Linked DNA regions of Homo sapiens: region 1 is linked to region 2. The links are contacts of gene promoters, found by promoter capture Hi-C in blood cells and fetal thymus (Javierre and others, 2016). All regions are on one chromosome and are shown on one strand. Each heading gives the region's core, a stretch centred on a gene start or on the middle of the fragment in contact. The rest is flanking DNA. Distances are from core to core; before and after follow the strand shown.

What was found. Contacts are between HindIII fragments. The CHiCAGO score rates a contact against its expected background, and 5 or more counts as called.
Region 1: a contact is called between a fragment that was not itself captured here and the fragment with the promoter of SAG in region 2, in 4 of 17 cell types (total CD4 T cells, non-activated CD4 T cells, naive CD8 T cells and 1 more). The highest score is 7.0, in total CD4 T cells.

The regions. Positions count from the first base shown.
Region 1 is chr2:232,742,980-232,748,909 of GRCh38, reverse strand. It overlaps GIGYF2 (GRB10 interacting GYF protein 2), which reads right to left. Exons shown (of 29, transcript NM_001103146.3): 4 at 1,166-1,295. Among named protein-coding and RNA genes, the nearest start is that of KCNJ13, 31 kb to the left of the region's middle. The HindIII fragment of the contact is 3,425 bases long and covers 2,518-5,930 here.
Region 2 is chr2:233,304,524-233,310,395 of GRCh38, reverse strand. SAG (S-antigen visual arrestin) reads right to left here and starts at 2,580. Exons shown (of 16, transcript NM_000541.5): 1 at 2,374-2,580; 2 at 1,132-1,234. The coding sequence starts at 1,206. The HindIII fragment of the contact is 2,146 bases long and covers 1,463-3,608 here.

The sequences.
Region 1 (5,930 bases), core at 2,981-5,480, 560 kb after region 2:
AAGAATACTCTTCTATTTATTGTTGATTATTATAAATACAGATTAATGCTTATTCAGCCATAATTGACTTCTATAGTCCTTATACATTTTGAGAGAGTCAATATTAAAAACCCCAGTCAATACTCCCCAGCTTCTCAAGTGATTGCCACTTTTGGATTTAGCACTAACTCTGCTATACCAGAGCACAAAGTAGAGGAATAAAAGTCTCTACATTAAATGCAAAGCAGAAGATGATAAGGAGAGTTTTATAAGCAACTGTATGTGTCCTTAGCAACCATCATTAAAATCTGAAATTCTCGATCACTGAAAAACAAAGTATACTGGAGGTGGGGCATTGTGGCTCACGCCTGTAATCCCAGCACTTTTGGAGGCCAAGGCAGGCAGATCACTTGAGGGCAGAAGTTGGAGACCAGCCTGGCCAACATGGTGAAATCCCATCTCTACCAAAAATACAAAAAAATTAGCCAAGCGTGGGAACGCATATCTATAATCCCAGCTACTCAGGAGGCTGAGGCACAAGAATCACCTGAACCTGGGTTGCAGAGGTTGCAGTGAGATGAGATCACGCCACTGCACTCCAGCCTGGGTGACTGAGCCAGACTCTGTCTCAAAAAAAAAGTATATTGGGAAAAAATACAAAATATTATTTCTTACTAGTCAGTGAGTAAGATAAAAGTCATAACAAAAGTATATTTTACACTGTTTCAGTTTTGATCTAAGTGACACAAATGTAGTGTTACATTTTAAGGTTTTGTCTCCACTGAAAATTTTATATAGCCGAAGGTGCTCCTCCTGTTGGCTCTTTATTTTTAAGTGGCAAGTAGGATAAGAGGTACAATAAAGAGAAAGGAAAAATTCTTCATTTCTTAGCCACTGAACTAGGATACAAATAGACATGAAAGGGGGGTTAAGAGGAAGTTAGCTAGAGAAGGCAGTAAGTGCTGACTACTCTCCTGTTTCCATGAAGCTGCCTAAAATATAGTGTGTGATAACACTTAGAAGATCCTCTGTTAACTATTGCAGGCTTCAAAGCAGGGAAACAGTTAAGGTGGAAAGGCATGGGTCAATACATTAGTAAAATAAATCAGTTTTCATGTATCAGTACATCATGGTATATATCCCAAAGTCTCATTCACAATTTTGAACTCTTTTCCTACTTTCTTACCTTGTTGTCTTTAAGGAAAAGTGCTAACATTTCTTCTCTGCCGTAACGATAATCTGCTAATTTATACTTCGGCAATGCTGGAGAAAGAGGAGGGGATGTAATACTCCCACCACTGGACAGAGCTCGGAGCCTAGAATAGAAAAGACAGAGAATATGTCAAACATTCTGGTGCTACAGACTTTTTATACTATACACTGTCAAAAAAAATTCATTTTAGTTCTTTAGAAGAGCAAAAAGAAATCCTACTATCTCAAAGTATCAGACTTTAGCTTTAATACAATCTTTTGTCATGGCACGCTAAAAGGGCAGTTTATTGAGAGATAACTAGACAACCATGTGGCAATTCCTTAACTTAAAAGGCATCACGGCTATGTCCCCCAGAAGCTTAGAGAATGAAAAAGGGACACATTTTTCCAAATTTTAAAAGGCGCATATGATTAAAACAAAAGTGAGATACTACCTTACACTCACTAGATTCATAAAACTTAATAAGTCTGATAATACCAGGTGTTGGTAAGGATGTAAAACAATGGAAACTTTCAAGTAGTGTTTGTGGTATTATAAACTGAAATAATCACTTCAAAGAATGATTTGATAATAGCTAATTATTTAATTATCTATTTGGCAATTTGGTAATAGCTAAAATATTTAATAAAGTATGCTATACAAAAGAAAAATCAAAACACAGCCTATAGTAATGATAATTTTTATATAAAATGCATAAACCTGCAGCTAGGTTTATACTGTTTCAAGACATACAAACTGCAGCAAAAGCATAGAAACAAACATGAAATTGACAAATACAACATTTAGAATAAGGTTATATCTGCAAAAGATTAAGATTATAAAGGCAGCTTTAATTGTACCTACAATGTTTTATTTTTGTAGCTTGCCAATGAATACATGGGTGTTTATCACAATTTATATTTTTATATGCCTGAAATATTTCACAACGTTTTTAATAAAAGCAATTAATGGTCAGTGTAGAGAATCTGAAAATGCAGTAAAGTACAAAGAGAAATTGAAAACTACATGTACTGCTAAGAAGACAAATAAAAAATATACTCCAAACTGATAAGAAAAGTTGCCTCTAAAGAACAGAACTTGGGGAAAAGGGACTATTTTGTTTAATTTTAAAATAATATATTTTTATGGGGAAAAAGGGAAGAAAACTTCAGCAAAAAATGGCGAGTAAGATTCTACTGTAGCACTGTGTCAGACAGCAAGTGGAAAAACTAACATCAGGAGTAGCTGATATCAAGCATGAAAGGGACCAAGCTACTTTAATTCTAGTTTAGACTAAGGAAAAATTCAATAGAAGCATTGAAATATGTGCCCAAAACTGCTAAGCTTTATTCACAAAGCAAAAAAGAAGGGAATAATCTACTAAATTATGACACATTAAATATTAATATGAAGGCCAAGTAAAACACAGTAAATATGTGCACATTATTAAAAATAGCGTATGCATAGTAAACAGTAAAATGTGTTTACAAGAATAAAGTAATATTTAAAGAAAAAATATGCATTAGTAAAGTGAGACTGTTGGGGTGGGATTTTTTTTTTTTACTTATTGTGGAAAATTTTTTGTATTTTCATAAATGCACCAAAAAGCAGATGACAAACTCCCGTGTAATTTTTGTATTTTCTGTAGAGACAGGGTCTCACTATATTGCCCAACCTAGTCTCAAACTCTGGGCCTCAAGCAATCCTCCCACCTTGGCCTCTCGAAGTGCTGAGATTACAGGCATGAGCCACCATGCCTGACCCAAAACATTTTTTTAAAGTCTGGGTTTTGCTGATTTTATCCATGATATAATTAAACATTTTTCTGTCTTTTGCATTTCATGTAAACTGGTGACTGAGTATAGAGATTTTGAGATTTTCATCAATTTGGGTTCTTTTTTGGCAATACTTCGTATGTAGTGGTATGTTATTCCATCAAGAGGCACACATTGTGATGACGTGTTTGTGATACTTGCAGTAATTTATGATCAATGCTTGGTTCCCTAAGTTCACTAAGGTTGTAAGTGATTATATTCTTTCATTCCTCCCTTATGTATTAGCTGGAATACTTCTGCAAAGATAAATTTTCCTCTTATACTACCTGGTATAGTTACCAAATAATACTGCTTAATACAAGAAAGGAGGGAAAAAGCCTTAATTCTTATTTGTTTTCAAAATAACGACTAGGTTCACTTGCACCTTCCAACAGTGTCCAACAGTAACACATTATTTTATTAATATATTTCAATTCACAGCAATTATTAACAGTGTTCAAACTGTCTCATCTTTGAAGAGTGGGAGACTCTTCAGGTTGGCTCCTGGGTCCTTTTGACATGACCCTAGCAGTCTTCAACAGCTTCTTTTCTATCTGGTATGTCAGAATGTTCCAGGTTCATCTTGTATTTTTCTTGCCTCAGACCTGAAATCAATCATTTCCAGGGAGCCCTGGATTCACTTTCATTTATAGAAATACCACAACCTGGGTTCTGGGACTGCTCACTGCTACTCTGTTTCCTTTGCAAATATTCTTGGGCTTGGAGGTCATTTAGTTCAACCCCCATAAAACAAGTTAAACAACCAGGTAAGCAAACAACATACCCACAAAGGAATGGTCCAATCACTCCTTCCAAGAAGAAAGGAACTACCCCAGTACCTTCCAAGAAACTGCTTTTTATTAGATTCCTGTAAAGTTGGGCTCTTTACTGAAGAAGTGGAATTAATATCCACTGAACACTGAAGCTGAAAATTTCACACGTGAACTAGCTCATTTAATCTAATTTAACCTTCACAACAACCCAAACATAACAGATAAAAATAAAGCTGAAGGGTTAAACAACTTGTCCACAGTCACGGGCAGCAGAACAAAGATTCAAACCTAGGTTTTTATTACTAAAAAGACCACAATTGACCGGTTGCAGGTTAGCTCACACTTGTAATCCCAACACTTGGGAAGCTAAGGAGTGTGGATCACTTCAGTACAAGAGTTCAAGACCAGCCTGGGCAACACGATGAAACCCCATCTTGACAAAAAATACAAAAATTAGCCAGGTATGGTGGCTCATGCCTCTGGTCCCAGCTACTCAGGAGGCTGAGGTGGGAGGACTGCTCGAGCCTGGGAGGTCAAGGCTGCAGTGAACAGCCACTGCACTCCAGCCTAGGTGACAAAGCAAGACCCTGTCTCAAAAAAAAAAAGAAAGAAAGAAAGAAAGAAAAAAAAACACAATCTTTCCAACAATTAGGTCTCAAAATCCTATTTAAAATAGCCAGTTTAAAATATACATATATTTTATTAGAACTTGTTTTAAAATATCTTCCTTAACACCAAACCAACATGTTTCCCAACAGTTTCTACCACTGGAGTACACATCTAAGCACTCTTTCAAATGAAAATCATTCTGGTATTGGCAAATAATCACCATGTCTCCCCAAAGACTCCTTCTCATGGCCTAACATTCCTAATTTCTTCAATTGCTGCTCACAATAAGATTTCAAATGTATTCACCACCCTGTCCCTTCCAATGGATCACCAATGGTTTTCCAATGCCCAAGACTAAACATTTCTTATAGTCACCAGATTTATTAAGAGTAACACAGGCCAGGTGCAGTAGCCCATGCTTGTAATCCCAGCACTTTGGGAGGTTGAGGCAGGTGGATCACTTGAGACCAGGAGTTTGAGACCAGTCCAGGCAACACAGTGAGATCCTGTCTCTCCAAAAATAAAAAAAATTAGCAGAGCATGGTGGTGCACGCCTGTAGTCCCAGCTATTTGGAAGGCTGAGGTGGGAAGATCGCTTGAGCCTCAGGAGGTAGAGGCTGCAGTGAGCCATGATCGCAACACTGCATTCCACCTTGGCTGAGAGTGAGACTCTGTCTCCAAAAAATAAAAAATACAAAAATAACACAATAACACAATCAGAGATTTCCTTCAGGTGCTATGAAAAGAAACTGAGGCAAACTGGCAGTAACTCAAACTAAAAGACAGTTGCCTGAGTTAGGATAATGGCTGTACTATGATTCAATAATCGACAAATTCAATTCCAAGTCCCTCTTCACCTGCAGATACTTAGAAAAGCTAAAACATATTTGGGTAATATTCTTCACTAAAAATCCACCTGAGAACTCATGAACACAAAGAAGGGAATGATAGACACTGGGGTCTACTTGGGGGTGGAAGGCAGGAGGAGGGAGAGGAGCACGAAAAACCACTGGGTACTCGGTGTAACACTTGGGTGATGAAATAATCTGTACAACAAACCCCCATTGACACAAGTTTACCTACATAACCTTCACATGTACCCCCGAACCTAAAAGTTAAAAAAATCCACATATGATCTTTATCTCCTCCATACAACCCTCTCTTCTAGAAATTTAATCCCTATGTGCTTTCGTCTGTCTCTAAACATATCTCCTCATTTGTTTAAAACTTTTGATACAGCCATTTCCCTTCTAGCTATGCACTGTTCATCTTTCCTCTTCATCTAGAAACATCTCTACTTCCTCGCTTCTCAGTCACTTCAAAACGCAGTGTGCCTGGTTTCTCCTGCCACTCCACTAGCTCCTGCACTGTTCATCAATAACCTCAACACTGCCAATTCTACCATGGGTAGTAAATAAGTGGCAGCAGCAGGCCCCCCAAAGCCCCATGATACTCCCAAAATCTTCGCTTGGTAAGTGTTGTCCAAAATCCAAACTTCAGCTTATGAAAGCAATTTGGATAGTCAATAAACAATGTGTGAAGGTGTGGGAGTCAAAAGGCACT
Region 2 (5,872 bases), core at 1,331-3,830:
ACACATCAGATTTCAATAATTCTTATATTATTATTTACAAGTTGAACTGATAGTTTTTTGGATATAGTGGGCTGAAATAAAATATAACATCAAAATGAATTTCACCTGTTTCTTCTTACTTTTTAAATGTGGCTACTAGAAAATTTAAAATTACATATGTGGCTTGCACTAGATGTTGCTGAGCTAGATTTTTGGCCCACAAGAAGCTTTCGAGTGGAGCTATCCACAGAGGCTGGACGGTGGACCCTCTCCCATGCGAGGAAGTTCATGGGCACACCTGGAGCATCTAACGTGCCCCTGGAGAGTGGTGGAAAGGGGGCAGACTGGGGCATTTTCCCTTATCCAATGGCCCTGCGGGCCCAGCTGAGGCTTGAGACCCCCCGGGTGGGGTAGGTGCACGGAGAAGAAGGAGTCACATTGATCACTGTCTGGGTTTTACCCAGGCAGGTGACACAATAGATAGACAAAAGGCCAAGGGCATCACAGGTACTGACAAAACTGTGTTTAAATAGTAAGTCAAGGGTTCAAGGCTGGCTAGGAAAAGATGCAGAGGTGGGGGTGACAGTGTGGGGATTGAGGGATTCGGAGAAAACTGAGGGACACAGGACTAAAGTCTTGATGAGACTGAAGAGAAGCTCTATTTCTGCAGTTCATTCACTCATTTATAGCTCAGTGATCATCCATCTTAGACAGAGACAAAAATAGACACAAAGCTTCCCTGGCCCTCACAGTGTTTGTTTGTTTTTTATTTGAGACAGAGTCTCCCTCTGCTACCCAGGCTAGAGTGCAGTGGCACCATCTGGGCTCACTGCAACCTGTACCTCCTGGGTTCAAGTGATTCTTGTGCCTCAGCCTCCCAAGTCTGGGATTACAGGTGCCTGCCACCATACCCAGCTAATTTTTGTATTTTTAGTAGAGATGGGTTTTGCCATGTTGGCCAGGCTGGTCTCGAACTCCTGGCCTCAAGTTATCCCGCCTCCGCCTCCCAAAGTGCTGGGATTACAGGCATGAGCCACCGCGCCCTGGCCCTCAAAGAGTTTTGATGTTGATCATGACTACACTGTACTTGAAAAAGCTCCATTTTTTTTAAACAATAATTTCTATCAAATCACTCACTTGTGCACCACTCACCGATTTGTCCCGGGAGATCTTCTTGAAGATAACATGGTTCGGTTCGGACTTGCTGGTCTTCCCGCTGGCTGCCATGTTATCTGTCCCTGGCAACTTCTACCACCTTGGGGTGTTGGTCAGGTGTTAGAGGGTTGGAGAAAGGTAAGACAATCCTAAATATCAAGTCAAGAACATCCTAGTTATGAAACCTACTCACGAGATCCTGTGCGTCCTCACCATGCCCTTGTACCGGCTTCAACATCCGAGTTTCATCGGTGAGTCTTTGCTTAGTTTGTATTTTACTGCAGCATGCTTTGGGGTGTTTTCAATATTTTATTTTTCTTGGTAAGCTTCAAACATTTCTCAGTACACCTTGCCAGGGAGTCTAGCTAGATTCCAATGAGGTTTTACTTTCTGACTAACCTTTGGTGTTATCACACTTAGCCAGGTTGAATTTAAAGTTCTATCGTGACTGTGTCTAATGGCGAATAAATCAGAAAAGTTCCTGAAAACCACAACATAACCACTTCGCAAAGACTGTTTTCAAGAAGATATTAATGGCCGGGCACTGTGGCTCACACCTGTCATCTCAACATTCTGGGAGGCTGAAGCGAGAGGATCATTTGAAACCAGGAGTTGGAGACTGGCCTGGGCAACATAGCAAGATCCTATCACTTTTTTTAAAAAAAAAGAATATATTAAAATCCCAAAAGTTCTATTTGGCAATTCCTACTAAGAGATAGCCACTCTGTTTTACAATTAAGAGGCCATCTTAGCGGTCTAGAATTAAGCATACTCTGAGGTTTTTTTTTTTTTTAAGATATAGGAGCTCGTTCTGTTGCCCAGGCTGGAGGGCAGTGCCACAATCATAGCTCACCGCAGCCTCGAACTCCTGGGCTCGTGATCCTCCTGCCTCAGCCAGCTGAGTAGCCAGGACTACAGGTGTGTGACACCATGCCTAGCTAATTTATTTTTATTTTTGTTTTTTTGTAGAGACTGGGTCTGACTGTATTGCTCAAGTTGGTCTCGAATTCCTGGCTTCAAGTGATCCTCCAGCCTCAGCCTCCTGAGTCACTGGGACTATAGGCATGAGCCATTGCACCCGCTCACTCCAAGTCTCCTTAAATAGCAACCAAGTCTTATGGAAACCACACAGAAAAGGTGAAGGCGGGACATACTGTCTGCAGGAAAACGCCCATCCTTGCTCTTCCCCACACCTGCCCCAGGTTTCTGATAAGGTTTTGGCCTGTGGTGGTCACATACCTTGTGATTTGTCACCAACCAGGTGGGAAGGGCCGGGTGGCAAGGAGAGGGTCTCTATGCTCTGAGATGATGAATAGCCAGCCCCTGTTCTGAGCAAGCTGGTACCGTCTTGCCAGATGAGCCTGAAGGGGCACCGCTGAGGCTCCTGGCCTACGTATGTGGGGAATTTGTAGGGGATCTAGCGAGGATGCCCAGCATCCAGGTCTCAATGTCTAAAAGCCAAATCCCACTTAAGGAGCAGAGTTGGATTAGTGCTGAGACAGTGAACTGGTAGTTTCAGCAGTTCTAAGCATTAAGCAACACCCCCCGCCCCGGTCTCCATACGGAGGGTCTCACAGATGTATGAGTCACCCAGCTGACTTGGGGAAGGTTGGTGGGAGGGCCAACAGCTAAATGAAAGCTACTTTTTCTTCTAAACCTCTTTGGATTCTGGAAATAGACTGATTATCTCTTCATTCCCGGGCATTGCCAGGACAGGAAGAGATTTGATTAAACTCAGCAGGCAGCTAATGCGACCTTGCGGGTGGGGACTAAACAAAAAGGTCAAGGAGAAATGTCAACCTCAAGATGAACCTGGTGTTATGCAAGCCAAGCTGGATCTGTCCCTCTCCTCCACCCGGTCCTACTGATTGATGGCTTCAGGAGTCCTGTTGATCCCCTCAGTGTCTCTGGAACCTGTCTGCATCCTCCCATCCCCAGCACCGCCTTTGCTTCTCAGGACCGGAGTGATTCCCCACTGTCTGACTACATCTATTTCTTTTCTTTTTTTTGTTTTGTTTTTTGTTTTGAGATGGAGTCTTGCTCTGTCTCCCAGGCTGAAGTGCAGTGGTGCAGTCTCAGCTTGCTGAAACTTCTGCCTCCCAGGCTGAAGTGCAGTGGTGCAGTCTCAGCTTGCTGAAACTTCTGCCTCCCAGGTTCAAGTGATTCTCTTGCCTCAGCCTCCAGAGTAGCTGGGACTACAGGCGCCTACCACCACACTGAGCTAATTTTGTATTTTTAGTAGAGACAGGGTTTTACTATGTTGGCCAGGCTGGTCTCGAACTCCTGACCTCAGGTGATCCACCTGCCTCGGCCTCCCAAAGTGCTGGGATTCCAGGAATGAGTCACCGCACCCAGCCGACCACATTTATTTCTACCCTCCAAGCCCTTTTCCACACAGAGGCAGAGAGACCTTCTGAGCCCTGTCATCCCTCGCTTACAATCACCCATTGCTCTTAGAATGCAGGCAAAAAGCTTGCAGCCTCTGGAACCTCTGCCTGCCTTTCCTTCCACGCCGTCTGCCACGCTTCCTCCTTCCCACTATTATTTCTGCCTGGAACAAGCCTCTCCTCTCTCCACTTTGTTGACTCTTCTTGGCCTTTCAGATTTTTGACCAGGAGTCACTTCCTCAGGGGAGCTATCCCCAACCTCCAGGACCAGATTGGAGGCACGCTTGCATTTCACTCTTTTTTTTTTTTGCTTTCGAGATAGAGTCTCACTCTGTTGCCTGGGCTGGAGTGCAGTGGCGCGATCTCGGCTCACTGCAGCCTCCACCTCCTGGGTGCAAGCGATTCTCCTGTCTCAGCCTCCCGAGTAGCTGGGATTACAGTTGTGCACCAGCATGCCCAGCTAATTTTTGTATTTTTAATAGAGATGGGGTTTCGTCATGTTGGCCAGGTTGGTGTCAAACTCCTGGCCTCCTGAAGTGCTGGGATTATAGGCATGAGCTACCGTGCCTGGCCACATTTCACTCTTGCTTGGGAATTATTCTACAGTCTCTCTTCCCTCACTGGAGTCCAGGCTCCATGAGGGCAGGGCCTAGGCCATTTTGTTTCCTTCACTTTTGTCTTCACAGTGCCCAGAACAATGCCTGCTCCCAAGAACACTCAGGGAATGGATGGAGGGGACTCTGCGACCACTAACACACTTACATGGGGGACTGACTTGGGAATGAAACAAGTATATGCAGAAAGCCTGTTCTGACGTTTGGGGTATCAGCATCCACCCAAACATTCCAATGGCTTCCCATTTAAGTCTGGACAATGCTTGCCAGGTCCGGCATGCTCTGGCCCCCCTTTACCTCTGACTTTATTTCTCACCACCCTCTCCCTTGCCCACTTCACTCCAGAGTACTGAGCCTGTTTTCTTTTCTTTTAGAGACAGGGTCTCGCTCTGTCACCCAGGCTGGAGTGCAGTGGTGCAATCATAGCTCACTGCAGCTTTGAACTCCTGGGCTCAAGCGCTCCTCCCACTTAAGCCTCCCGAGTAGCTAGGACTACAGGCACATGCCACCACACCCAGCTAATTCTTTAACCTTTTTGTAGAGATGGGGTCTTGCTATGTTGCTCAGGCTGGTCTCGAACTCCCAACCTCAACTGATCCTCTCACCTCAACCTTCTAAAGTGTTGGGGTTACAGACGTGAGCCACCACCACTGGCCTGCTTTTCTTTAAACCTCCGTCTAGGCCTTTCCACTTGCTATTTCCTCTCCTGGAACAGTCTTCCCACAGCCAGCCACATGGCTCACTCCTTCAATGGCTTTGAGTCTTTACTTCAATGTCACCCTATCCTTAGCATACTCTATGGTTGGCCTCACCATACCTGAACTGCAAACCCCCTATTTTAAAACACAAAGATTATTCATTGGTGCTAAAACCATTAGGTGAAGAGTTGCTGGGAAAATGACTGTAGGAGTGAAGTGATGCCACACGGATCATGGTGTCATCACAAGGTGCACGGCAGATGCCATGGTCAATCTTAGCATTGCTGGTGGTGTCAGCCACATGGGATGTGTCCCCTTGGGTTAACTTGAATCCATGAGCCTTCAGACATCATTTCTAGTTTATCGGAAATACAAGGAACGAGCTACGTGACGCAAGTGAGCAGCCAGACAAATCCAACAAACAATGCCATAGAAATGGGTAGGCCAGGTGCAGTGGCTCACGCCTGTAATCCCAGCACTTTGGGAGGCCGAAGCGGACGGATCACAAGGTCAGGAGTTCGAGACCAGCCTGGCCAACATAGTGAAACTCCGTCTCTACTAAAAATACAAAAATTAGCCAGGCGTGGTGGTGGGCGCCTGTAGTTCCAGCTACTCGGGAGGCTGAGGCAGAAGAACTGCTTGAACCCGGGAGGGGAGGTTGCAGTGAGTCAAGATCGTGCCACTGCACTCCAGCCTGGGTGACAGAGCGAGACTCTGTCTCAAAAAAAAAAAAAAAAGAAAAAAGACATGGGGTTTACTAGATTAAAAGACGCTAAGACACTCGAGACCCAGATGTCATGTGCAGCCCCAGACTGAATACACAACTGGTCAAAAAGGATGTGTAGGACATTTTGGGTTCATTGGGAAAATCTGACTATGGTAAAATGCCTGGAGTAGAAAGGTGAGAGATTGTGACAGAACCAACAAGACTGCAGAATGGTGTGCTTAGCATGTCCACGTTTTGCAAACACACAGAGACTATGTATTTGTGTATACATACATATATGTACATTTACACACACATGCATATACACACAAG